4 separate regions of the Homo sapiens genome follow, and regions 1, 3 and 4 are each linked to region 2. The links are contacts of gene promoters, found by promoter capture Hi-C in human tissues and cell types (Jung and others, 2019). All regions are on one chromosome and are shown on one strand. The core of a region is centred on a gene start or on the middle of the fragment in contact, and the rest is flanking DNA. Distances in the headings are between cores, read along the strand shown. Region 1 overlaps CACNG2 (calcium voltage-gated channel auxiliary subunit gamma 2). Region 2 holds the start of NCF4 (neutrophil cytosolic factor 4). Region 3 has its middle 5.8 kb from the start of IL2RB. Region 4 holds the start of TXN2 (thioredoxin 2).

What was found. The method cuts DNA at HindIII sites, captures the fragments that hold promoters and counts their contacts. A contact is called where the count stands out against the background at its distance.
Region 1: a contact is called between a fragment that was not itself captured here and the fragment with the promoter of NCF4 in region 2, in 2 of the 25 tissues and cell types used here (bladder and thymus).
Region 3: a fragment that was not itself captured here is called in contact with the fragment with the promoter of NCF4 in region 2 in 3 of the 25 tissues and cell types used here (dorsolateral prefrontal cortex, lymphoblastoid cells and spleen).
Region 4: a contact is called between the fragment with the promoter of TXN2 here and the fragment with the promoter of NCF4 in region 2, in 1 of the 25 tissues and cell types used here (thymus).

Annotation. Positions count from the first base shown.
Region 1 is chr22:36,587,719-36,594,092 of GRCh38, reverse strand. The region is part of intron 1 of CACNG2 (calcium voltage-gated channel auxiliary subunit gamma 2); the gene reads left to right. Among named protein-coding and RNA genes, the nearest start is that of EIF3D, 62 kb to the right of the region's middle. The HindIII fragment of the contact is 7,923 bases long and covers 1-5,372 here.
Region 2 is chr22:36,856,592-36,862,255 of GRCh38, reverse strand. NCF4 (neutrophil cytosolic factor 4) reads right to left here and starts at 1,250. Exons shown (of 10, transcript NM_000631.5): 1 at 1,053-1,250. The coding sequence starts at 1,084. The region is part of intron 1 of NCF4-AS1 (NCF4 antisense RNA 1); the gene reads left to right. The HindIII fragment of the contact is 13,239 bases long and covers 1-5,664 here.
Region 3 is chr22:37,152,817-37,158,566 of GRCh38, reverse strand. It overlaps a transcript of IL2RB not described here. Among named protein-coding and RNA genes, the nearest start is that of IL2RB, 5.8 kb to the right of the region's middle. The HindIII fragment of the contact is 5,288 bases long and covers 1-3,894 here.
Region 4 is chr22:36,476,876-36,482,893 of GRCh38, reverse strand. TXN2 (thioredoxin 2) reads left to right here and starts at 1,254. Exons shown (of 4, transcript NM_012473.4): 1 at 1,254-1,330; 2 at 2,057-2,319. The coding sequence starts at 2,057. RefSeq lists an enhancer at 1-824. The HindIII fragment of the contact is 22,621 bases long and covers 1-6,018 here.

The DNA.
Region 1 (6,374 bases), core at 162-2,661, 270 kb after region 2:
TGAAGCCATCACAACCCCTGGGGTGGATTACCACCAACCAGAAGGAAATACAATGGAACCCTAGGCTGGCCTTAGGGAAATGAAATCTCATTCATTTCATCACCACTCACCACTCTCCCCTTACTGGAGTGATGTCTGTTGACGTAGATGTCCTATGAAGTTCAAATTTCACCACTAATGCTTGAGTGCTGCTAGTGCCCCCTCCCCTCCTATACCTCTCCCCAGCACCACCATTAATCAGACTGAATCCAGGGCCCACCGAGCTCCAAGTGCTCCTGGAGACCCTGTGCTCCTCCAGCTGACCCTCACAGCCTCATGGCCACCAGAGGCGTTGGGACCAATCGCACAGTGACCTGTATCCCAGTTTACCCCATCACTCCTCCCTACTCATCACTTGTCCCTCAGGGCTGTGTGTCCTCTGATCTGGCTGGATCTCTAACTCCCCCGCCCTCCTAAATCCTTGCCATGGCACCTTCTAGAATTTAGGTCACAGTGCCAGCAGAATCCCCCCATTCTGTCCTTGCTCTAATGGAAATCTGGCTTTCCCCGAAGGACACCACCGCCCCTGCAAACTCTCACTGTCGAGAGTGTTTTACTGCTCACATCCCAGGCCTCCCTGGGCCTCATCGACATTTCCGGTCCATTTCCCTGCCTCCTCCCTAAACTCCCTGCCTCTGTGAAACACATCCCAGCCTACCTGTCCGACTCCCTCATGGCCGCCGCCATTCAGTCTTTGGGGAGCTGAGCGCTGGCTCACTGCCTTTGCCTCCAATGCTGCTCCCGTTATCATCCTTGCAGATTCCACAACCAGGAAATCAGCCCCTCCAGTCCCTGGCCGTGACCCCTTCACTCCAACCTGATGTGCCGGTGCTGCCTCACTGGTTGTTAAATATTGAAATACTGTTGTACCGATCAGTCTTACTATGTCAGGGAAGCTGGCTGGGGGAAGGGGTGGCTCCTGCATTGGGCGGGGCAGAGAGAAGAGAAGGGCTGGGACCAAGGCTCCATCTCCTCTCCTCGCTCCCCAAGGCTGGGTTAAGGACTCAGCTCTGTTCTCAGGTTCTATAAACTCCAAGGCCCGCCCCAAGGATGGGGGCAAGAGAAGAAGAGTCTCCCTACTGGTCCTGACTGGTGGGACTGGGCTGGGCTGGGCGCACACCACTGCCCTGCCGATGAGAGCCTCTACCCCTCTCACAGCCTCCCACTACCTTCCCATTCCCGGCCCTGACCTCCTGGGGCTGCTGGGCACAGAGAGGTCCTCTAGTCGAACCGTAGAGGACAACTTAGGAGAAGATTCTGCACTCGCCGAGGTGGAATGACCCTTACTCTAACAGGGAAGCTTGGGGAGCATCTGGTGTGGTTTCCTGTGTCAAAGCATGGTCCAGTCAAGCCATCATTTAGCTCATAACAGCCTCATCATCAAAAGATCACACCACTCATTTCTAAAAACCAATCGGTGATTTGGGGCTTATTAGAATAATTTGATGAATCATTTGCACTTCAAATTTTAACCGGGTAGGCAGTTTCTTAATATATACTCGATGTATATAGAAAACAACAGCGAATGTTGTAGTTTTGCCTTATCTATTAATTTGTGTGACCTTTCCAGTGCATACTTGAAGATCATCCCTACCTCTGCCTGCCCCAAGCCACCTCATTCGGGGTCTTACCCTTGCCCTTGGCATTTCCAATATCCACACCCCCTCCACTCTCTGTCTTTTGCATCCCACTCTCTGGCTACCACGTGCCACCGTTGCAGCTCACTCCCATGCACCCCCATTTCAACAATGCTTTGACCCCACCCCAACCCCAGGCTCAAAAGCATTGACTGCCCTCCCCGCTCCACCCCCCACCCCCGCCTTTGCACTGCCTCACTTGCCCTTCAGGACCTCATTTCCCTGTTTACCCAGCTTAGACTCCATATCCATCCTCATAATCCCTCCCATTCCACCCTCTCCCTGTTGCACTCACCTCACAAACCTCCTCCTGGTTAGACGCAACTCTCCAGCTAACTGCACCCATGCCACAAATGTGGCCAGAGAAAACCACAGAATCTCAGAAGTGACCTTCAAGCCACTGACACACACACTTCACAGCCTGGTCCACTGTCTCCCACTCTCGCTTCCCTTCCCCTGTCCTCCCGTCCCCAACCCTTCCTCACTCTCAGTTGATGATCCTGCTTCCCATTTCGTTGGGAAAATAGAAGCAACAGAAGAGAAGTGTTACACCCTCCCACCATGTCTGCCCATCCCCAGCACTGCACCCACGAGCTCTGCTGTCCCTCCTGGCACAGCACCACCCCCCTTGTGCTGTGTCCTGGGCCTCATCTCCTTGCACAGTGCACCTGTATTGCTCCCCCATCTCTGCAGGTCATCCCTTCTGTCCTCCTTTCTTTTACTTTTTTATTTTGATTTTATTTTCAAGACAGAGTCTTGCTCTGTCACCAGACTGGAGTGCAGTGGTGCTATCCTAGCTCACTGCAGCCTCGAACACCTGGGTTCAAGGGATCCTCCTGCCTCAGACTCCCAAGTAAGCTAGGACCACAGACACATACCACCACATCTGGCTAATTTGTTTTTATTTTTTGTAGATATAGGGTCTTGCTATGTTGCCCAGGCTGGTCTTGAACTGCTGGGTTCAAGGGATCCTCCTGCCTCAGCTTCCTAAAGCTAAGGCTGAGCCACTGCCCCCAGCCCCTCCCTTCTTCCCTCTCTACTAGAACATTCCCACTAGTATCATACAGGCTTTAATATCTCCCCCCTTAGGCCGGGCGCGGTGGCTCACGCCTGTAATCCCAGCACTTTGGGAGGCCGAAGCAGGCGGATCACGAGGTCAGGAGATCGAGACCACAGTGAAACCCCGTCTCTACAAATAATACAAAAAAAAAAATTAGCCGGGCGTAGTGGCGGGCGCCTGTAGTTCCAGCTACTCTGGAGGCTGAGGCAGGAGAATGGCGTGAACCCGGGAGGCGGAGCTTGCAGTGAGCCGAGATTGTGCCACTGCACTCCAGCCTGGGTGACAGAGCAAGACACCGTCTCAAAAAAAAAAAATATATCTCCCCCCAACATAGAGCAGCCAGCACTAGCCAGCTAGTGGAGGACACCCCAGTAGCACAGTGCAGGGAGGCAGAAGGAGGTTAGGAGAAAGAGGCAACAGAGGACGTGGTGGGAGTTCAGGCAGCAGGACCAGCATGCATGTGCCACGGTCCTGAGGTAGGAGGGAGCATGGCAGGAAAGAAGGCAGAGATGCACAGGGAGGGAGGAGGTGGGTGGGAGGTGAGGCCAGATGTGGAGGTTGGGGGTCAGGCTTTGTTAGAGATGTTGAGCTTTTCCCCGACAGCACTGGGAAGCTGGAGTGTTTCCGAGCTGGAGGTGGCATGATCAGATTTGCATGTACAAAGGATCACTGTCATAGCTCTGTAGAGAAGGATAAGAGTGGGTGCAAACTGATGAGTGGGGAGGCCGCGGCAGCCATCCAGGGAGCAGGGATGGTGGCCTGGTAGTGGGCGGTGCTGTCTCAGAGACATCAGGCAAGTTTGAGACACTAAGGATCTAATACAGACAGGACGCCCTGATGGATGGAGCCTGCAGGGAGGAGGAAGAGATAGATGTCAGCGCTGACAACTAGGCTCAGGCTTACACAAGGGAACCCTGGAGAAGCATTCGCCAAGCTAACTGGGGCCTCCAGAGTGCCAGGCTAGAGGGAAAGATCAGGAGTTCATGTTCAGTGCCTTTAAAACATCCACCAGGAGATGTCAAATAGGCAGCTGGATACCCAGGTCCAGGCCTCAAGGAGAGGTCTGGGCCACTGATTATCTCGCACGGCCTCTCTGTTAGCATCTCCTGAACCCTGCTTCTGTGCCAGGCACTGCGCTAGGAGCCAATGGTCCAAGGATGAGTGAAGCCCAGGCTTGCACACAAGGAGCAACTAGGCTCCCCGTAGAATGTGAGCTCCTGTTCCTGCGGGGAACAGGAGCGGGTGTGGCCCACCAGGATGCAGCTGGGGCCCTGCTGGGTGAAGCTCTGTCCTCAATTTGTGGGACGCCTCAGGGCATGTCAGTACTGCTCTCTGAGCCTCACTCCTGCACAGATTCTTTATAAAGATGCCTGGCACCGGCTTGCTGAAATATTTGTCAGATTGAATTGAAAGAAAATGAGAGTGCTTTGCGAAGTGCTTTTCAAATACACTGATTTGTAATTTTAACAATAGGGAGAATTTGTTATCCTCTTAGCAGCTGGTATGAAGACTTTTCCCACAGAGAAGGGTGCATGGTTGGATTAGGAAAACAAGGTACTAGGGAGGGGACAAGGCTTCCTTTTAACACCCCAAGATGCAGGAGGGCAGAGGGGCCATGACACGATGGGGGTGGGGACAGCAAAAAGCAGGGAACCCAAAACACTCAGAGAAGACACCTGTCCATGGGACCATTTTGAGTGGCCCTACCAAGCTTCAGTGAAGCGACCAGAAGTCCCGATATGGTCTGGGGAATTGTTTTTCTTGTAGAACTCAAGAAAGTTAGTGAATTTGGTACAGGGATAGCTCATGTGTGAAAGGGAGTTACAGAGATTCCTCTTTTCCATTATATGCAGCATATAATCATAGCCAGAAGTTCCTAAAATGCTTATATTCCTACGTAGTACGTAAGTATCCCTGTATACTATATACCTGTGTACTATTAGGTTGATGCAAAAGTAATTACGGTTTCACTATTACTTTTGATGGCAAAAACCACAGTTGCTTTTGCACCAACCTAATATATAGGTCTATTTTATACACACACACACATATATATATATATGTCTAGGCTGGGCACAGTGGATTATGCCTGTAATCCCAGCACTTTGGGAGGCCAAGGCAGGCAGATCACTTGAAGTCAGGAGTGGGGGACCAGCCTGGCCAACATGGTGAAACCCCATCTCTACTAAAATACAAAAATTAGCTGGGCATGTTGGTATGTGCCTGTAATCCCAGCTACTCAGGAGGCTGACGCAGGAGAATCACTTGAACTTGGGAGTTGGAGGTTGCCGTGAGCCGAGATCACACCACTGCACTCAAGCCTGGGTGACAGAGTGAGACTCCATTTCAGGGGGAAAAAAAAAAAAAAAAGGTATATGTAATAATACCGTAAAATTCCTAATTAATATCTATGACACATACTAGAATCTGCCCCTATTTTATAAGACATAGTCTCAGGACTGTAGAAGAAAATCATTGCCAACATGTATTGAGGGCTGTATTAATTAGGTCACAGTAGCTACTATGTTGGTGGCTGGACACAGTCAAATTTCATTTCTGTCTCACGTCAATGCCCCCAAGGACTTCCTAAATGTGTCAGGCACTGTTCTGACTACTCAACATGCATCAGCTCAGTGAACCTCCACGACAATCTGCCAGGGAAGAATTCTTGTTATCGCCACTCTCAGGTGAGGACACTGAGTGATGCACAGCTGGACCCAGGCAGTCTGGCTGTGCAACCTGCATCTTACCCACTGTGCATACGCCCCAGCATACACCCAATCTTTCTTCCATTCAGAGAAGGTTAAAGGACATTCACTGTGCCTATGCTGGTGCTGGAGATAAGACAGTGAATGAAACAAAGTCTCTGCTGTCAGGAAGCCGATGCTCTGGTGATTGTAGAGTCTGTGCTACTTATCGGTTTTTAGAAAGGCCACATTCAAGAGTTCACGTGCTCATCAGTGAACACTGGGGAGGACCTGCCTGTGACACTGTGCTGGGATTTGCCCCAGGCCAGTTCTCACCTTCCCAGCAGGCACCGAGGAAACATTTAGAGTCAAAAGATCCTAGTTTCAGCCCTGATTCCGTCATTTCCTAGCCACAAGCACTTGCTCAGATAGTTCAGCCTTTCTGAGCCTCAGTTTCCTCATCTATACAATGAGGATGATAATACCCCCCTCACAGGCCTGTGGTGGAACCAAAATGAGCTGTAGTTCAAAACCCAAAAGTCCAGCCCCCAGGGGGCTCAACTTCCTCCCCACCCCCATATTTATTTCAGAGCAGTTGGCGGCTGGGTTTGGTGAATTCCGTGCGGAATTGCAGATGGGAAAGTGTTTTGCAGGCTCTTCTAAAGGGCTGTGGCAGCATCTGGCAGCACCAGTGCGGGGTGTGTCCCCTTTAGAAAGTGATCTGCTACTTTCTCACATGTAAAATGCAGGATGACTCCCAGCTATGCTGGGGCACAGAGACGGGCTGAGGAGCATTCATCGGCCTCCTGCGTGGCAGTCCCCAGCTCGGAATCAAACCTCCACTGCTGCCAAGCCTCCGCTAATCCTCAGAAGCTTCAGTGCAGGGACAGAAGGCAGCGTTTTGAAGTCGTCGGCTTTAGATCCTCTCTGCAGTACTGCGGGTGTGTGTGT
Region 2 (5,664 bases), core at 1-2,500:
TGTTCCCCGCGTAGGCACACACCAGCCTGGCCTGTCTCTGGTGACCCCCTGAGTGGCCTCCACGTAGGTAACAGAGGTCACCTGCTGTTCCAATCCAGGGGGTGCAGGGGCCAGGCTTTGCGTCCTCAGGGCCCCCGCAGCTTAGAGCTCAGACCTGGCTACTGAGGAAAAATTCTGAAAATGCTTCCCAAGCGACGAGGCTAGATGCTGGTGAGGCCGTGCTCCAAGCCCCAACCTTGCCAGTCACTCTCTGTGACCCTGAGTAAGTCTCTTATCCTCCCTGGGCCTCAGATTTCCAATCTGTACAATGGCAAGGTTGGACTAGAAGAATCTAAGACCTTTTCCGTCTCAAAGATCCACCCATTCATTCATTCATTTATTCATTCATTCAGCAACATTTATTGAGCCCTTGGTCCTGGTGCTCAATAGGGATGAGCTACCTCCTAGTGATACAGCAGCGATCAAAACGGACACAGCCTCGTGGAGCTTGCTTCTCATGGGGGAGCCAACGTTCAAGAAAAAATAATAAATGAGCATATAATATTATTCCTGTAATATAAGAACCAGGCAGAAAAGGGAAATAGGGCAAAGGGTCAGACAGCAATGAGGTAGGGGCTGTCAGGAAGGCTTCTTGGAGGAGGTGACATTTGAGGCAAGCCCTGATTAGCGGAAGAACAAGCCAGATTCTGTGAATTCTGTTTGCGCAGAAGATGGAAAGTCATTGCTGATCACCATGTGAAGCAAAGGGCCCCAGCCTGGGACCCAGGACACCTGCATTCCTCTCCAGACACTGCCGGTCACTCGTTGTGTGACCGTGGGCAAGTCACTCCCACTCTTGGAGCCTCAGTGTTCTCATTTGTGTCTGAGGGTGGTGAGCCACAGCTCAAAGTTTCGTTAAAGCAGTTCTGAGAGGTTGCATTTCTGAGTATTTGGGTTCTGACTCAACCCCAGCCTCTCATGTTGATCAGGGACTGCAGAAGGACTGGCCTTTGTCCCTAAGGCCTATGAGGAGCAGTGAGAAGGCCCGGGGGCGGCCACACCCCGGCACTCACCTCTCGGCCCGCAGCTGCTGGGCCACAGCCATGGTGGGCGATGGTCCCAGGGAGCAGGTGGAGAGTCTCGCCCAGCCAGTCCCAGGCTGAGTTCACCTCTCACTTCCTCCAGCCACCCTGCGTCTCGTCTCAGCCTGTGGTCCTGGGAGTCCCCAGGAGCTGCCTTTGGGGAGGCTCAGGCCTGCTTCTCTCCAGTCTGGCAGAGGCTCCTCCTCCAGGCTCTCTGGGCCTAGCCTGTGGCCCACACTTCCTCTTACCTCACCTCCCAGCTGCACAGAAATTGAGGAAGTGGACCCTCGGGTGCCAGGTTTGCAGGAATCCACTTCCTTGATGTCAGTCCTTGGCGCCAAGCCTCAGTTGGGTATCAGAAGCCTTGCTCCATCAGAGATGGGGTCCCAGCCATCAGGGTGTCTTGTGACCTTGAGGAGTCACTTATCCTCTGGCCCATCAAGCCCCACCTTTATTCTCTTACTGCCAAGCCTTTGCCCAAACTCTTCCCCAGGCCTAGAATGCTGGCCTCCATTTTCCTGTGATCTCTTAGGCCCAGAGTAAATGCCACCTCCTCCAGGAAGCCCTCCTGGTTCCTCTGGCCTCTGTCTTCCTAGAGTGTGAAGTTTGGTTTGCGCGCCCTGGCACTCTGGGATATCCTTTCCTCATCCTTAGATCTCCATGCCCAGCCAATCCTCTTTCACAGGGCTGCCAATCAGAGTGAGTTTCACCCTCCCTGCTTAAACTCTCCTGCCCCATCACCCTGTGCTCAGGATAAAGTCCAGAGTCCTTGCCCTGCCTGCCTCCAATGCCCCTGAGGCCCTGCAGCCTTCCCCAGCCTCTGCTCCTGAGCTCCCTTTTTCTCACTGGCCTCCTTTCCGTTTCTAGAATGTTCTAAGACGTCCGCCCCAAGGCCTATGCTCATGGTGTTCCCTCTGCTGGAAAAAGCTCTTCACTGCCTCCTTTGCATCTCAGCTTAGAAGCTACATCTTTAGCGAGGCCTTCCCTGACCACACACCCTAAATTAAGGCCCTCCCTACTACATTCTCTCACAGGTCCCTGCACGTCTACTGCAGAGCACTCATAACTATTGTCATCTCACATTTGTTTGTTTATCTGTATGTTTAATGACTGCCTCCTTGGCTAGCAGCGTGCCTGGCACATTGCAAGTGCTCAACCAATATTCAGTGAATGAATGAAACGCTGCCAGTCAGTGACTGCAGCTCCTAACAGGTATGGGTATTTGATTCTGAAGGGACTTCTCTGAGAAGAGGTCCACAGGAGTCATTGGCACAGCCACACCCAGTAACTCCCTGCCAGCTACACACGCTCACACACTCGTATTCATACATGCAGAGCAGAAAGTTGTTTTAAACTACTTTAAACATACAAGTCCCAGCTAAAAAAAACAAGAAAGCATAATTTTTAGGTAGGATCAAAGAGAGGGGTCAGGAATCTATACCAGGGGGAGAGGAACGTGGCCAACAGCCCATGGGAAAACCAAGATTGGATATGCATTGTTGGGCTGAGATTTTAATGCCAAATCTGGGACTAGGTACAGGCCACAGGTCCTGCTGTTAGCAGAAAGTCAAATCTGAGTTCTCAGTGTAAAGTGGGTGTCAGAACTGATTATGGGAACAGAGTTTCTCAGCCATCAGCCTAGAGTCACGGCAGGAGCTGAGGTCCTCTCACAGTCCATGGGTGGAACAAGGGACGTGTGTACCAGATCAGCCTCAAGCCTGCCCTCTGCACTGGTGTAAGGCCCCGATATAAGCTACCCACGTGGTGCAGAAATCCTAAGCTGAGGCATTATATAAAAACAGCTTGGAGTCAGTGACTCTGCAGGGCCTACTCTGTCAACTCACAGACCAAAACTACAAATCGTGAGCTGTGAAAGACAGCTCAGAGCCTCCACATCATGAAGAATTCACACCCAAAGAACTAGAAATAATACAAACAATAAGTCTGATGAGTTGCTGGTGTCTCGGGGCTCCCAGGCTAGAGGATGAAATGAAACACAGAGCAGGGTTATTAGTGCAGGTGTCTGTAAGTACCAACAGGTGCAAGCACACAGCCATAACTGAGGGAAGAGGAGGACATTGGCCTACAGTTGGTCAGGAAGGACAGGAAGTGGCAAAACAATTTTAGCAAGCAAGCATGATACAGAATTTGTAGGTGATTGTGTAAACTGTGTGTGTAGTATATGCCTATAGTTGGAAACACATATTTGTGTATAAACACATACAGCTCGCATAGGCAAGTGTAAGTGCATTTGTGTTGTGTCTATAAAAGACCATATAATGTGTATAGTGGTGGCATTGTGGCTGTGAGAGAATGTGTTTAGATGTTTAGGTTGCAGTCGGTGACAAATGAGTATAAACACAAGTACATTTATAATAGGTGAACTCAGGCAAGATAACATGTCCTTTTTGAACCTTTCTTCTTCACCAATCTGTGAAACAGTCTTGCCTAATGGAGTTGTAGTAGGAATTAATAGAAAACTGTATAAAAGTGCCTAGACACATGGACATTTCTTATTCCTTTTTTAATCGTTTTCAGTGTGTATATCTGTATGTGTGTGTTTCAGGTGGGTTAAGCCCTCAAGTTTACCTTCCCAGGTATTTTCATGGCTTGCCCTCCAAACCCCGGCCCCCCCAACCCCCCAAGAAACCTCCTGTGGCCCTGACTCAGCCACTGGGAAGCCACCTCTGCACCTGGGGGACAAAGATGTCCAGGGAAGAGCCCGCGACGGGCCAGCTCTTCCCCTCCTCCCCTCTTTCTCTCCTTTTCTTCTGTCCCTGCCCGTGGTTCTGCTGAATACAGGTATTTCTCTGTCTCCTCATACACAGAACGCTGCTGCCAATTTTATGCCCGAGCTCTGATACAGTGTAATTTGAGGCCAGGCACTCTGTCAGCAATGGGCTCCTGTCCTGCCGCTGCAGCAATGCCTGTACCTTCTACTCCCACTCCAGAACCGGGCTCTTGCTGCTCCTGCTGCAGGGGGAGAATGAGGCAGAGGGATGACCTGGAAGAGGAGCCAAGCTCTTCACACGTTCCATTAAACAAGTATGGATGGAATCTTTTTTGGATAAGTGCAAAGAAATGCCTGAAGTGACCTCTCACTTATGGAGACCTGATTTTTGATAACCTCCACATCCCACAGCCTGTGAATAAACCAAAAAAAGAGAAAAGCCATTGAATGGTTAGAATTGATAGCTCAAAGTCTATGCATTGACACTGGCATATTTTATTCACAGAAGAAATATAAAAGGAGCCTGGTCCTCTCTTCCTGCCAACTCAAGAACTTGAAGCAGTGAGTTAGGGGAAGGAAGAAAATTACCAGGGGCAGCCAAATGCAAGCGACAGTTCAGTGACAGCCTGACAATGATAAAGACCATGGAATACCAAAAAATATATATGTTCTCAAGAACTCAAAAAACAAATACCAGAGGCCATTCAGAGAAGGGCATCTCTGCATAACACCACTTACTAATGCCCATTCATAATCACATCTCCAGGAAAAAGTCTAATACACCAAGACCATGCCTGGGGGATCCCCAGAGCCTGAATGGGGACTGGATGTGCGAATCACAAAAGTGCACAGCACTTTTCAGTCCTTCCTCATGCAGGTGCTGGGGTATACAAGATAAACCATAGCCCCCATTTTGGACATGAGGAAACTCTCCTTTGAGCAGCCAGCGGCTGGGGCTGAGAGCTCCAGCCATAGGAACTGGAACTCTGTGATAGGGAGGAGGTGAGCCTCTTCTACAGGACCAGGAGATACCCTTGAGAGCTCATTATAGGTACTCAGCAAATCCCCACTGCCTACATCAGCCACTCTCCAGGGTAAGAGAAGGAAAATCCCTGATTGGACAGTGTAAGATTCCTGGGGATCCCTCACACACTGAATTCCCCAATCTTGACCCACATGTGTCTCCCTTTATAATTTATGAGGGGAACTTCACTGGACCTCCTCCCTGAGCCATAAATAGCCATCCCTGGCATGCCACCCAGGCAGGGAGGGTGTAGACGTGGCCAATTAGACAGCAAACTCCCTGAAGGCAGAGGGTCTTCTCTTCTCTGAGAAGCCCTGGCACACGGCTGAGCTGGGTCTAAACCTCGTGTGCCCTCGCTGTGTCACGCATTAGTTGTGCAAACTCTCCGACCATTGTTCAGTTTTCTAAATGGAGATAATATTTGCCTCTACATTATTAATTGGAGAGAAAAATTGCAGGATTATTGTATTATTCATTTCCAAATGTGTTGAGAACCTACTATGTGCCAGACACCCACTGTGTGCTAGGCCCTAAATGAAACACAGACACTGTTCTTGAGACACGCACTTACTAGAGGTGTGTTAACTAAGGGAATGAATACCAGATGTTTAGGACAGTGGCTCGCGCATAGCAGGTGGTCAATAAATTCTAGACGTTAATGTTATTGACGATCATTCCTTGCTGTGGCTTGGTCCCTCCCTTTTCTGTCTCCCTCTGCTGCACAGCTTGGTCCTCTCTGTCATACAACTAACGTTACATTCTAACTTTTTCCCGCAATCTGTCATCCGCTCTCATCACGCGGGGGCACCGGGACGCGCACTTCCCTGGCGGAACCGGCTCTGCGCTTA
Region 3 (5,750 bases), core at 1-2,500, 300 kb before region 2:
TATTTTTTTTAGACGGAGTCTTGCTCAGTCACCCAGGCTCGAGTGCGGTTGCGCAATCTTGGCTCACTGCAACCTCTGCCTCCCGGGTTCAAGTGATTCTTCTGCCTCAGCCTCCTGAATAGCTGGGACTACGGGGTGCCCACCACCACGCCCGGCTAATTTTTTTTTAATTTTTATTTTTGGTAGAGACGTGGTTTTGCCATGTTGGCCAGGCTGGTCTCGATCTCCTGACCTCGTGATCCGCCCGCCTCAGCCTGCCAAAGTGCTGGGATTACAGACATAAGCCACCGCGCCCAGCCCTCCCCTTCCTATCTTGGCATAGCTACGTGGCATTCCACTGGATGGAAGTTCCCTAATTTGCTCATCACCTGTCCCCTATGGATGCGCATTTTGTTGGCCTCGGGTCCCGTGACTGCAGGAGTTACTTTGTACACACGTGTTCAACATGGGTCACTCTGTTGATGAGTTTTAGGTGTGGAATTGCTGGGTCATGTGTCAGAGATGTTGGTAGATGTCAGATTGCCTTCCAGGGAGATGCTTGAAGCCCACGCCAGCAGGGTGACTCGCCTTTTCAACCTGCCTTTGATGGCAAAGCTTTTGAAACTTCAAATATGCTATCCTGGTGTTTTTAATGTGTATTCTCAGGACTCTTCAGGGTATTAGGGACTTAGCACTTTTGATTCTTTCTCTTTTCCTTTTTTCCTTCCTTCCCCTCATATTGACACTGTCCGTATGTCAGGTAATTTTCTGGGTTCTGGAGTGGTGTGGATGAATCCCACACTGTTCCTGTTGTCCAAGAGCTCCTGGTGTAGACTCATAAGCAAGGCTCTGACATGAGATATGGTAACTGGCTTGTGCCCAGAATCTGCCTTGGCCAGAATTGGAGATCAGGGAAGGACTGGTTTTAAATCGGGGAGCTGATTAGTCTGAGTAAGTAGGGTGGGAATATGGTGACCAACTTTGTCCTAGGAATATCACTGTAAATCTTATGTTCTGGAAACCCCCCTCAGTCCCAGGCACAGTGGGACAGCTGGTCACCTTGGCGCGATCCTGGTAAGGAATGGCATGGTTTGCACAAGATAGGAGCTGCTCAGGGCGCTGGTGCTGGTGTGGCTATGAAGCAGGCAGCTCCCGGATGAACAGGGAAGAACGTGGGGCTTCAGGTCTGGAGCCTGGGGGGCTGGCGTGGAGGTGGCTGCTGTGGCAAAGCAGAAGTAAGGGTGATGGCTTGGAAGGAGGGGGTGAGGGAGGGAAGGAGTCAGGGAGAATGGCCACAGTCTGTCTTGGGGACTGGTGGGTGGGGCGCCTCCAGTGAAGAGCAGGTGTCAGCAGAGGGGCATGCTCGGAGGACAGCCCTCAGGAAGTCGGCCGCTAGCCTGCTCTTTCTCCTTGTTCTGCTCTGGCCCCTCTGTGGGCCCCTGCAGCTTTGTGATCCTCATTTGTCATGAGGGGTACCCCACAGTCTGATGGGGACTGGGCGGAGGGTCAGACACCAAATTATGTATACCATAGTCCTCCTGACCAGGGACCAGGACTCAAAACCAGGTCACTGGTGAGGCCTGGCACTGTGGGGGCAGGACTTTTTTTCCAGCTGGGGACTCGGCTACCTGCTGACTTTCCAGAAGACAGGTCACAGCACCGAGCAGGGGTGGGCGGAACACAAGGACTTGAGGGTGGGTGACAGTGTCAGCTGGCTGAGCCAGGGAGGGCAGGAAGGGAGGTGGCCCTGGAGATACTGGAGGTCTTCACAATGGCAGAGGACAGGCGGTGGCAGAGACAGTGAATGGCACCCCCAAACCTGCTCTCCCCTGCCCGTGTGCCCTCTACTTATAGCTGGCTACATCTCCCAGCCTCCTCTGCAGCTTGGTTGGCTATGTGACTCAGGCGTAGCCAATGGGATGTACATTAGAAGTGGCTACGGCAGCTTTGGGGAAGGGTCCTTAACAGGCAGAGGCAAGCCCTCCCTCTCTCCTTCCTTTCCCTTCCATCTGCAGGAACGCAGAGGTGATGGGTGGAGCTTGAATAGCTCTCTTGGTCTATGAGGAGATGGGAGAAGGATATTGAAGAGACCCTAGTAGCAAGCCAGATTTAGCTCAGGATCCTGACATCATAAAGCCACCCCACCTAGCCTGGGTGGCCTCCCTTTGGACTTCTTTTATGTAAGAGAGAAATAAAGCCCTCTCTTATTTTAGGTCACTGTTTTCTTCTTCTGTTCTCTTTGGACACACGCAGCTGAACTTCATCCTAACTGGGACACTGTTGTACAGTGGAGGCGGTGATGGCAGCACGCGGGTGAGCTGAGGTGGAAGTTCAAGGGGTCTTGGTTAACACAGGTCAGAATGATGGCAGGGTGCAAGTGCAGGCCTGGGTGTGGGACTGGTATGGAGCAGTTCAGAGGGAACAGGAGGCTGGAGGCTACAGTGTGGACCCTGACATCTCCTGGGAGGCGGAGTGGAGAGGGAGGCTGAGCGCAAGGGCCAAGCACTCCAGTGAGCAGAGGGAGGACGGGTAGGGCGTTTGGCAGATACCAGGACTGAGGAGGATGCAGTCTGGCTTGGCCCCAAAAAAGACAGCCCAAGGACATCAGGGCTGGAAGACCCCAATATGCCCTTGTCCCATGGCCCCTGTGAAAGAGGGGTCTGGGTCCAGTGGTGGGAGGGCTGTGGGACTGGGTGCATGGAAACAGAGGGTATGAGGCGGTTTGTTCCCAGTGGGACCCATGAAGATGCAGCGCAGAGGGTCAGGTGGGGATGTGGAAGACGTAAGAGAAGTAGTTATAGGAGCAAGGCGTGGAGCTCGTGGAGGAGGCTGGGTCCAAACCCCAGCACTCCTGAGACCCAGGTCTGGGTAGGCCCGAGTGGGCTCTGTCAGGGCTCTGCCATCAGAGAAGCTTCTGGATTACATCTCAGGTTGCCTCAGAGAGAATCGGATGTCCTCTGGGACAGACCTAGGTTCTAATCCTGGCTCTGCCACATTCTGGTAGGATGACTCATGAGGCCTGGTTTCCTGGCCTGTAAAATGGCAAGGGAAGAGCAGGCTCAGCATGCACAAAGCCCTGACAGAGTGAGAAAGCACAGGAGGCAGGGTCAGAGATGAAGATGGGGCAGTCCCTGTAGGACATGTGGGTCAAGACTGAGAGTTTGGATTTTACTGTGAATGCACTGGGAAGGTTTGAGTGTGTATGATGGGGAGTGGCTGGGGGGTGAAATGACGTGATTTGAGTTTGGGAAAGGTTGCTCTGGCCGCTGAGTGGAGAACAGACCAGAGAGTCAGGAGTATTAATAGAAACAGGGAGACCAGGGCGGAGGCCACCATGGGCCTGCTGAGGTGGGAGATGACACGGCTCTGAGCAGGGCAGGGGCTGAAGAAAGCAGGTGCACCTCTCTGCACACCCCTGCTGGCCACCCATGCCTCTGGGCTTCTGCTGGCGTACTGTCTCACCCCTCCTCACCTGGTTTTATGTTCAGCTGTAGCACCTGGGGGACAGACTGTATGAGTCAGAGAAAACAGAAACAGCAGTCCCCAGGTCTCAGAGGCCCAACAATAGAGGTTTATTTTTCATTCAAGTTATAGCCCAGTGTGAATTGTCTGAGGAGGGGTGAGGGCCTGTCCTTCAAGGGACTCCAGCCCCTCTACCCAAAACTTCACTGGATTCTGGCAGGGGAGGGGAGAGAGAGAAAGAGATAGAGGGATGGCCGGCCGTGGTGGCTAACGTCTGTAATCCCAGCACTTAGGGAGGCCAAGGCAGGCAGATCACGAGGTCAGGAGATCGAGACCGTCCTGGCCAACATGGTGAAACCCCATCTCTACTGAAAATACAAAAATTAGCTGGGTGTGGTGGTGTGTGCCTGTAATCCCAGCTACTCGGGAAGCTGAGGCAGGAGAATTGTTTGAACCGGGGAGGCGGAGCTTGCAATGAGCCGAGATCGCGCCACTGCACTCCAGCCTGGCTACAGAGCAAGATTCCGTCTAAAAAACAAAAAAAAAAAAAGAAAAAAAAAGAGAGATAGAGGGATTAAGAGACACAGGAGATCATAGGTGAGATTTTTTTTAGGCCTAGAAGTAGAATAAATCACTTCCTCCCACATCCCATTAGCCAGACTTGGTTCTGGAGCCCCAGCTCACTGCAAGGGAGGCTGGGAAGCAGACCCGAGCTGATGCCGGGAGGAGGGTGCACGCCATGGCCTGGGGACCCATTCCACCAGGTTTCCCTCCTACGTGCTCCCACAGGCCATGAGGTGTTACATAGAGGATGTGAAGGAGAATCATTCTCTGCGTAGCCCCCTCCCTGCCTCTCCATCTGAGGTGTTCTGGGCTAGGACCCTTGACAAAAGAACAAACCGGCTCCATCCCCTGTCTCCTGGGGTGGGAGACTCTGTATGTGGGGGCTGCACCATCCCCCATTCTGCTCCCCACTTTCCTGGCTGCTGCACATCTCAGGGGCACGAGGGTGGAGAGTGGCCTACCTCCCTCCCTTGGTCCTACCCCGCTGGCCTGGGCTGCGCGCCTCAGGCTTCCTGTGTCTGACCTGGTCTTTGGGGCATCTGGGGTGCTCAGTAAATGTTTGTTGAATAAATAAAAGAAGGAAAGCAGGATGAGGAGGAAGAAGAGTCTTGGGCAGTATGTGCCAGGCAGACTGATGCTGTCTCATGGATGAAATAGCTGTACGCAGCTGCTCCTTGCAAGCTGGGTCTGTGACTTCTGGCTTTGGCTGCGGATGCATTTTTCTTTTCTTTGTATGTGTGTGCTTTTAAAGTTTTAACTGAATTCATTTATTTGGGGGCAGGAAATATGTTCATGCCATACAAAAGGGTCTATAGAGAAAAGCGTCCTTCCTAACCCTTCCTCACCTGGCTCTCCTCCCTGAGACAACCGGCGTTCCTAATTTCTTGCAAAGCTTCTGGGAATATTTGAGGCTTAATAAATGTTGGCTGTTATTCTCATGGTTGTGGCTGTTGTGTTTAGTATCCTCTCCTGCCGCCAGACAGCCTTACTCTAGAGGAGAGGGAAGGGCAGTGTGGAAGGAACTGGCCCTTACAGCAAGCCTGCAGTGCGTGGTCACATTAAATGCTTTATACACACCTTCTTGTCCAGTTCTCCCTTCATTTGGTAGGTCTGCACACTGAAGCACAGGGAGGCCTAAGTCACAGCCTCAATCTCCAGTCCTGCCCCTCCTGGGCAGCAGTGCTCCACGCTTCTTCTTTTCCAGCAGCGGGCTTTGCACATGGGAGTTGGGCCTGATTCTCTTTTTGGAGTCTTGAATTCCACTTTTCTCACATTTGCAGAGCTGCCGTCTCTGCTCTTCTCTCTCTTCTTCTCAGAAGAGGTGGCAGGCTGGGCGCAGTGGCTCACACCTGTAATCCCAGCACTTTGGGAGGCCGAGGGAGGTGGATCACCTGAGGTCAGGAGTTCAAGATCAGCCTGGCCAACATGGGGAAACCCCGTCTCTACTGAAAATACAAAAATTAGCCGGGCATGGTAGCACGTGCCTGTAATCCCATCTACTCGGGAAGCCGAGGCAGGAGAATCGCTTGAACTTTGTGGGCAGAGGTTGCAGTGAGCCGAGATTGTGCCACTGCACTCCAGCCTGGGTGACAGAGCTAGACTATGTCTCAAAAAAAAAAAAAAAAAAAAAAAGAGGCCACAGCTTGCAATAAAACCCCTCTGAAACAGGGAATCAGGAAAGGGAAGAAGCAGAGCTGCTGCTTCTGGGCTCTGAGGATGGAACTTCACAGGGTCTATGGGGCTGT
Region 4 (6,018 bases), core at 5-2,504, 380 kb after region 2:
AACTTGAATCTCTGCTCCGAGTTGCAGTCTTCGAACTTGACCCAAAAAAACTCCCTGCTTAAATTAGGCTCGCCTCAGTTTTCATTTGTTTTCCTTTAGGCGGACACAGACGAGGGCCACTTAAAGGATGGCCCCTAAACTCCCGGTTGAGTTCTTTTACATATAAAGGGCATCATGCCTTTGAGGAGCTTAGCTTTACATATTAAATGGAGAAACAGAACCTGTCAACATCTGTAGGAAGTGGACAGCGCCAGTTATAAACAGGAGGCCAGGCAAGGTGGCTCACGCCTGTAATCCCAGCACTTTGGGAGGCTGAAGCGGGCGGATCACTTGAGCTCAGGAGTTCCAGACCAGCCTGGCCAACATGGCGAAACTCCGTCTCTACTAAAAATACAAAAATCAGCCCGGCGTGGTGGCGCGCGCCTGTAATCCCAGCTACCTGGGAGGCTGAGGCAGGAAAATCACTTGAACCCGGGATTTGGATGTTGCAGTGAGCGGAGATCACGCCACTGCACTGTAGCCTGGGAGACAGAGCGAGACTCTGTCATTAATAAATAAATATATGTAAATAAAATAAAGCAACAAGAGTTTGCAAAATCCAAAACCACGGGGACTTCTCAACTGCCTTTTCTCCCTTAAGTACCCTCCATTGCTACCCCTGCTCCATCACCTCCTCTTCCGGTCCCTCCTCTAGGGCCCGCCCACCCCTTCCGTTTCCGCCCCGCCCCGCCCCCGCCTTCGCCCAGACCAGGGCCCGCCCGCCTCTTCCAATCCGTTCCCCGACGGCCTGCCCATTGCTTCCGGTCCGTAGCTGAGGCCCCGCCCCTTCAACTGTGCCTCAGCCCGCCATTCCCATTGGCGGAAAATCCCAGACGCCCCTCAAATTGGAGAGGGACAGATGGGCGCTGTGGCTCACGCCCGTAATCACAACCCTCTGAGAAGCCGAGGCGGGCGGATCACGAGGTCAAAAGATCGAGACCGTCCTGGCCAACGTGGTGAAACCCCGTCTCTACTAAAAATAAAAAAATTAGCTGGGCGTGGTGGCGCGCGCCTCTAGTCGGGAGGCTGAGGCAGGAGAATCGCTTGAACCCGGAAGGCGGAGGTTGCAGTGAGCCGAGATCGCGCCACTGCACCCCAGCCTGGCAACAGAGCGAGACTCTGGCTCAAAAAAAAAAAAAAAAAAAAAAAAAATTGGAGAGGGACGCTCTTCCGCCTGCCTGTACCCGGAAGTGACGTTATGTACGTCCCCCCCCGAGGAAGTGACGACAGGCGTGCCCTTGACAGGCAGGGAGGGCTAGGCTGTGCATCCCTCCGCTCGCATTGCAGGGAGGTAGGAGCCCTGTGGGGGTGGCTCGAGGTGGTGTCGCGGCTGAGGCATGCCGCGAGCGCGTTCCTGCGCAGGCTGGCGGCCGGGCGGGCGGGGGGATCTAGCTCGCCGGAGAGCCAGGGTCCCTGGTGATGTCCGATTTTTCCCAGTTCCCTCCACACATGTCCCTTCTTTATTGGTTCCCTCCAGTACATGTCTCTTCGTTTTTGGTTCCTCTCACACTCTTAGTTCCTCCTTGAATTGTTGCGTTTCATCTTTTCAGACGACCCTGGGTTCCAGTGTTGGCTGTCATTTAATAGCGGGGTTACTTTGGGCATGTCACTTAACTTACTTGAGCCTCGTATTCCTTCCCTTACTCGCAGTGTGGGCAGTACAATAGCAACTTCCTGGAAGTTGCTGTAGGAAGACCAATAATGTGTGTAAGGTACTTGGTCCTTACATACATTATTAAATCTGTTGGTTTCTTCCTCCCATTCTTCCGTTATAATCTAAATCCCGATTTCTTTTTGGTTGTGAAGCCAGTTTTCCTGTCCTTCTGGTTTGCCTAGCTGTTCCTTCCCTTTGATTCTCATTGCTTCCTCACTTCCACGCTACAAATCTTACATATGATTTCCTTGCATTTTGCTTCCAACTCTGCCTCTTCCTGAGCCCTGAGTACTCCCCAAATCTTTTTCTAGTGTGTCGACTTCCTTTTGTGTGCCCCAGTTCTTCTGCCTCTTTCCCTCACAGATGGCTCAGCGACTTCTTCTGAGGAGGTTCCTGGCCTCTGTCATCTCCAGGAAGCCCTCTCAGGGTCAGTGGCCACCCCTCACTTCCAGAGCCCTGCAGACCCCACAATGCAGTCCTGGTGGCCTGACTGTAACACCCAACCCAGCCCGGACAATATACACCACGAGGATCTCCTTGACAACCTTTAATATCCAGGATGGACCTGACTTTCAAGACCGAGTGGTCAACAGTGAGACACCAGTGGTTGTGGATTTCCACGCACAGTGAGTATTGGGGGTCCACAGAAGACTAGGGTCCTACTTGTTCAAGTATTTATTGAATGCCTGCTGTGTCCCACGGCCATGTTCTATGCTGCTCATATGTAGACTCAATATACAGACTGGTCAGGCCCAGTCCCTGCCCTCAAGGGGAATGCAGTCTGGTGGAAGACAGACAAGTGAACAGTCTGCAAAGCTGACTGTTAGTGCTGGGAAACACATGTTCTGTTTCTCAATCCCCAGAAAGCTCAGCGTCATCTTTAGCATGGACCAGAGTTGGAAAAATATGACTGTCACCTTGCTTTTGGTGTATACCAGTTCCTGGCCCTGCAGATAAGCTGATGTTAACATCCTGCCATGAAAACCGCAAGAAGGGCTGGCAAAAAGTTATCAGTGTCGGCCGGGTGCGGTGGCTCATGCCTGTAATCCCAGCACTTTGGGAGGCCAAGGCGGGCAGATCACCTGAGGTCAGGAGTTCAAGACCAGCCTGGCCAACATGGTGATACCCTGTCTCTATTAAAAATACAAAATTAGCTAGGCGTGGTGGTGTGTGCCTGTAATCCCAGCTACTCGGGAGGCTGAGGCAGGAGAATCACTTGAACCTAAGAGGTAGTGTTTGTAGTGAGCTGAAGATCGCGCCATTACACTCCAGCCTGGGCAAAAAGAGTGAAATTCCATCTCAAAAAAAAAAAAAAAAAGTTATCGGTGTCACTACCGTGGTGCCCAAGCATACAGGGCATAGGAAGGAGTTTCCTTTCAGTGCTATCTGAGTTTGCTTTAGAGATATTTAAGTCCCTCTGGCCTTCTGAATTTTAGCCTGGGCTTTTTCATTTCTAGATCTTTGGGGCCTGGCTAGACACCCAACTACACAAAAGCTGGACAAAGCCCTCTGAATGAGGCATCCTGGGAGAAACCAGTGTAGCATAAGTTAAAAATTCAGGGGCCTTCAGGTCGGACGCAGTGGCTCACACCTGTAATCCCAGCACTTTCAGAGGCCGAGGCAGGTGGATTACCTGAGGTCAGGAGTTTGAGACCTGCCCAGCCAACATAGTGAAACCCCATCTCTACCAAAAATACAAAAATTAATCGGGCGTGGTGGCGGGCACCTGTAATCCCAGCTACCCAAGAGGCTGAGGCAGGAGAATCGCTTGAACCTGGGAGGTGGAGGTTGCAGTGAGCTGAGATCGCGCCATTGCACTCCAGCCTGGGTGACAGAGGGAAACTCCATCTCAAAAAAAAAAAAAAAGAAAAAGAAATTGAAGGGCCTTCTGGTCAGGTCTCTGACAGATTGTTTCGCTGGCTTTCCAGTTGTTTCTCTGACTCACCCTGTGGCCTTGGGCAGGCCACTTGATATCTTTGTGCTCCCTTTCTTCACTTGTAATAGGAGATAAGGTCTTGCACACTGGGTTTTTCAGTGTTATGAGTTGTTTTTGTTTTTCTTCTTTTAGAGACAAGGTCTCACTCTGTCACCCAGGCTAGAATGTAGAGTGCAGTGGTGCGATCACGGCTCACTGCAGTCTCTACCTCCTGATCTCAAGCAATCCTCCCACCTTGGCCTCCCAAAGTGCTAGGATTACAGGCATGAACCACTGCGCCAGGCCTGAGGGTTTTTTTTCCTTTTTTGTTTTTGAGACAGAGTCTCATTCTGTCACCCAGGCTGGACTGCAGTGGTTCAGTCAGCTCACTGCAACCTCCACCTCCCGAGTTAAAACAATTTTCCTGCCTCAGCCTCCCAAGTAGTTGGGACTACCACCCAGATAATTTTTTTGTATTTTTAGTAGAGACGGGGTTTCACCATATTGGCCAGGCTAGTCTCTCAAACTCCTGACCACAGGTGATTCTCTCCCGCCTTGGCCTCCCAGAGTGCTAGGATTACAGGTGTGAGCCATTATGCCCGGCCTATTTTTCAGCATTTAAAACCGTCAGGCCTGGCTGGGTGCGGTGTGCACCACCACACCTGCTACTCAGGAGGCTGAGGCAGGAGAATTGCTTGAACCCGGGAGGCGGAAGTTGCAGTGAGCCGAGATCGCGCCATTGCACTCCAGCCTGGGCAACAGAGTGAGACTCCATCTCAAAAATAAATAAGTAAGTGCTGAGAATAAAATAGGAGTTGTCAGCCAGGGGTTTGTGAAAGGTGGAACTGTCTTGGCCTCCTGGTGTAGTGAGCATTCCAGAGAGGCCTTCCGAAATGAACAATAAATGGGATAATGCCTCATTTTGTTCAGTAAGGAAGTGGGGTGGTGTGAGTTGTTCATTCAGTGCCAGGCACTTTCCTTGGTGCCACATACATAGAGATGACAGCACCAGGCCTGTCCTGGATGAGCTTCCCCAGCGAGAGGGGAATACCTATGATCAGGGCAGTGATAATGGTCAACTCAGGGGCTGTGGGATCAGAGTAGCCTGTGGGTGAAATAAAACACTTTCTCTTTTTTTTTTTTTTTTTTTTTTGAGACAGAGTCTCTGTCGCCCAGGCTGGAGTGCAGTGGCACAATCTCAGCTCACTTCAACCTCTGCCTCCCAGGTTAAAGTGATTCTCCTGCCTCAGCCTTCCTAGAAGCTGGGATTACAGGCGCACACCACCACTCCTGGCTAATCTTTGTATTTTTAGTAGAGACGAGGTTTTACCATGTTGGCCAGGCTGATCTTGAACTCCTGACCTCAGGTGATCCGCCTGCCTCGGCCTCCCAAAGTGCTGGAATTATAGGCGTGGGTCACCGCACCCGGCCAAAGAAAACACTTTCAACACAGCTTTGGGTTGTGATCGATCCCAGCTGTGCTTCTCTAATCTTGCACAGGTTTCTTAACTCGTATGGGCTTCAGTTTCTTTGGAAGGTGTGTTCTCTTTGCAGAGTTGAGGGGTGTGTTTGGTAAAAGCAGAGAAAGTGAGCCAGGGACTGGTGCGTTGTAGACGCTCCAGGCCATTGGTTCCCCTCCTTTTAGTTCTGAGTCCACATGGTGTTTGAAATATCCCCACAGCTTCCAATGCATGTTTACCCACATTGCCTTAGTTGATCTCTCCTAATAGCTTTGAGAGCCATAATCTCTCTTTTTCAGATGAAGAAACTAGGGCCCAGGCCGGGCGCGGTGGCTCATGCCTGTAATCCCAGCACTTTGGGAGGCCGAGACAGGCGGATCACGAGGTCAGGAGATCGAGACCATCCTGGCTAACACGGTGAAACCCCGTCTCTACTAAAAAATACAAAAAATTAGCTGGGCGTGTTGGCAGGCACCTGTAGTCCCAGCTACTGAGGAAGCTGAGGCAGGAGAATGGCGTAAACCAGGGAGGCGGAGCTTGCAGTGAGCCGAGATCGCGCCACTGCACTCCAGCCTGGGGGATAGAGCGAGACTCCGTCTCAAAAAAAGAAAAAAAGGAAACTAGGGCCCCAGAATAATCAGCTGGTTGGTGAGAAGCCTCTGTTTGAACCTTTTAACTTCCAATCCCATATCCTTTTATATGACAGTATATTTATCTGAGATATACTGAAATGAGTCACTTTTATTATGAGTCTTCTGATGAGGCCTGTGTTTTAAAAGTCTGGGATCTGTGAAGATTTCCCATGTGCAGAATCTCCTGGCATTACCATTTGGTGTGTTAATTTTTAAACATGGTAAACAGAGATAATAAGGGCAAAAGATTCCTTGGAAAGATGCAGGTCTGGGAAGCCAGTAGGGGATGCTGAGCGCTCTTTTGACTGACTGGATGCT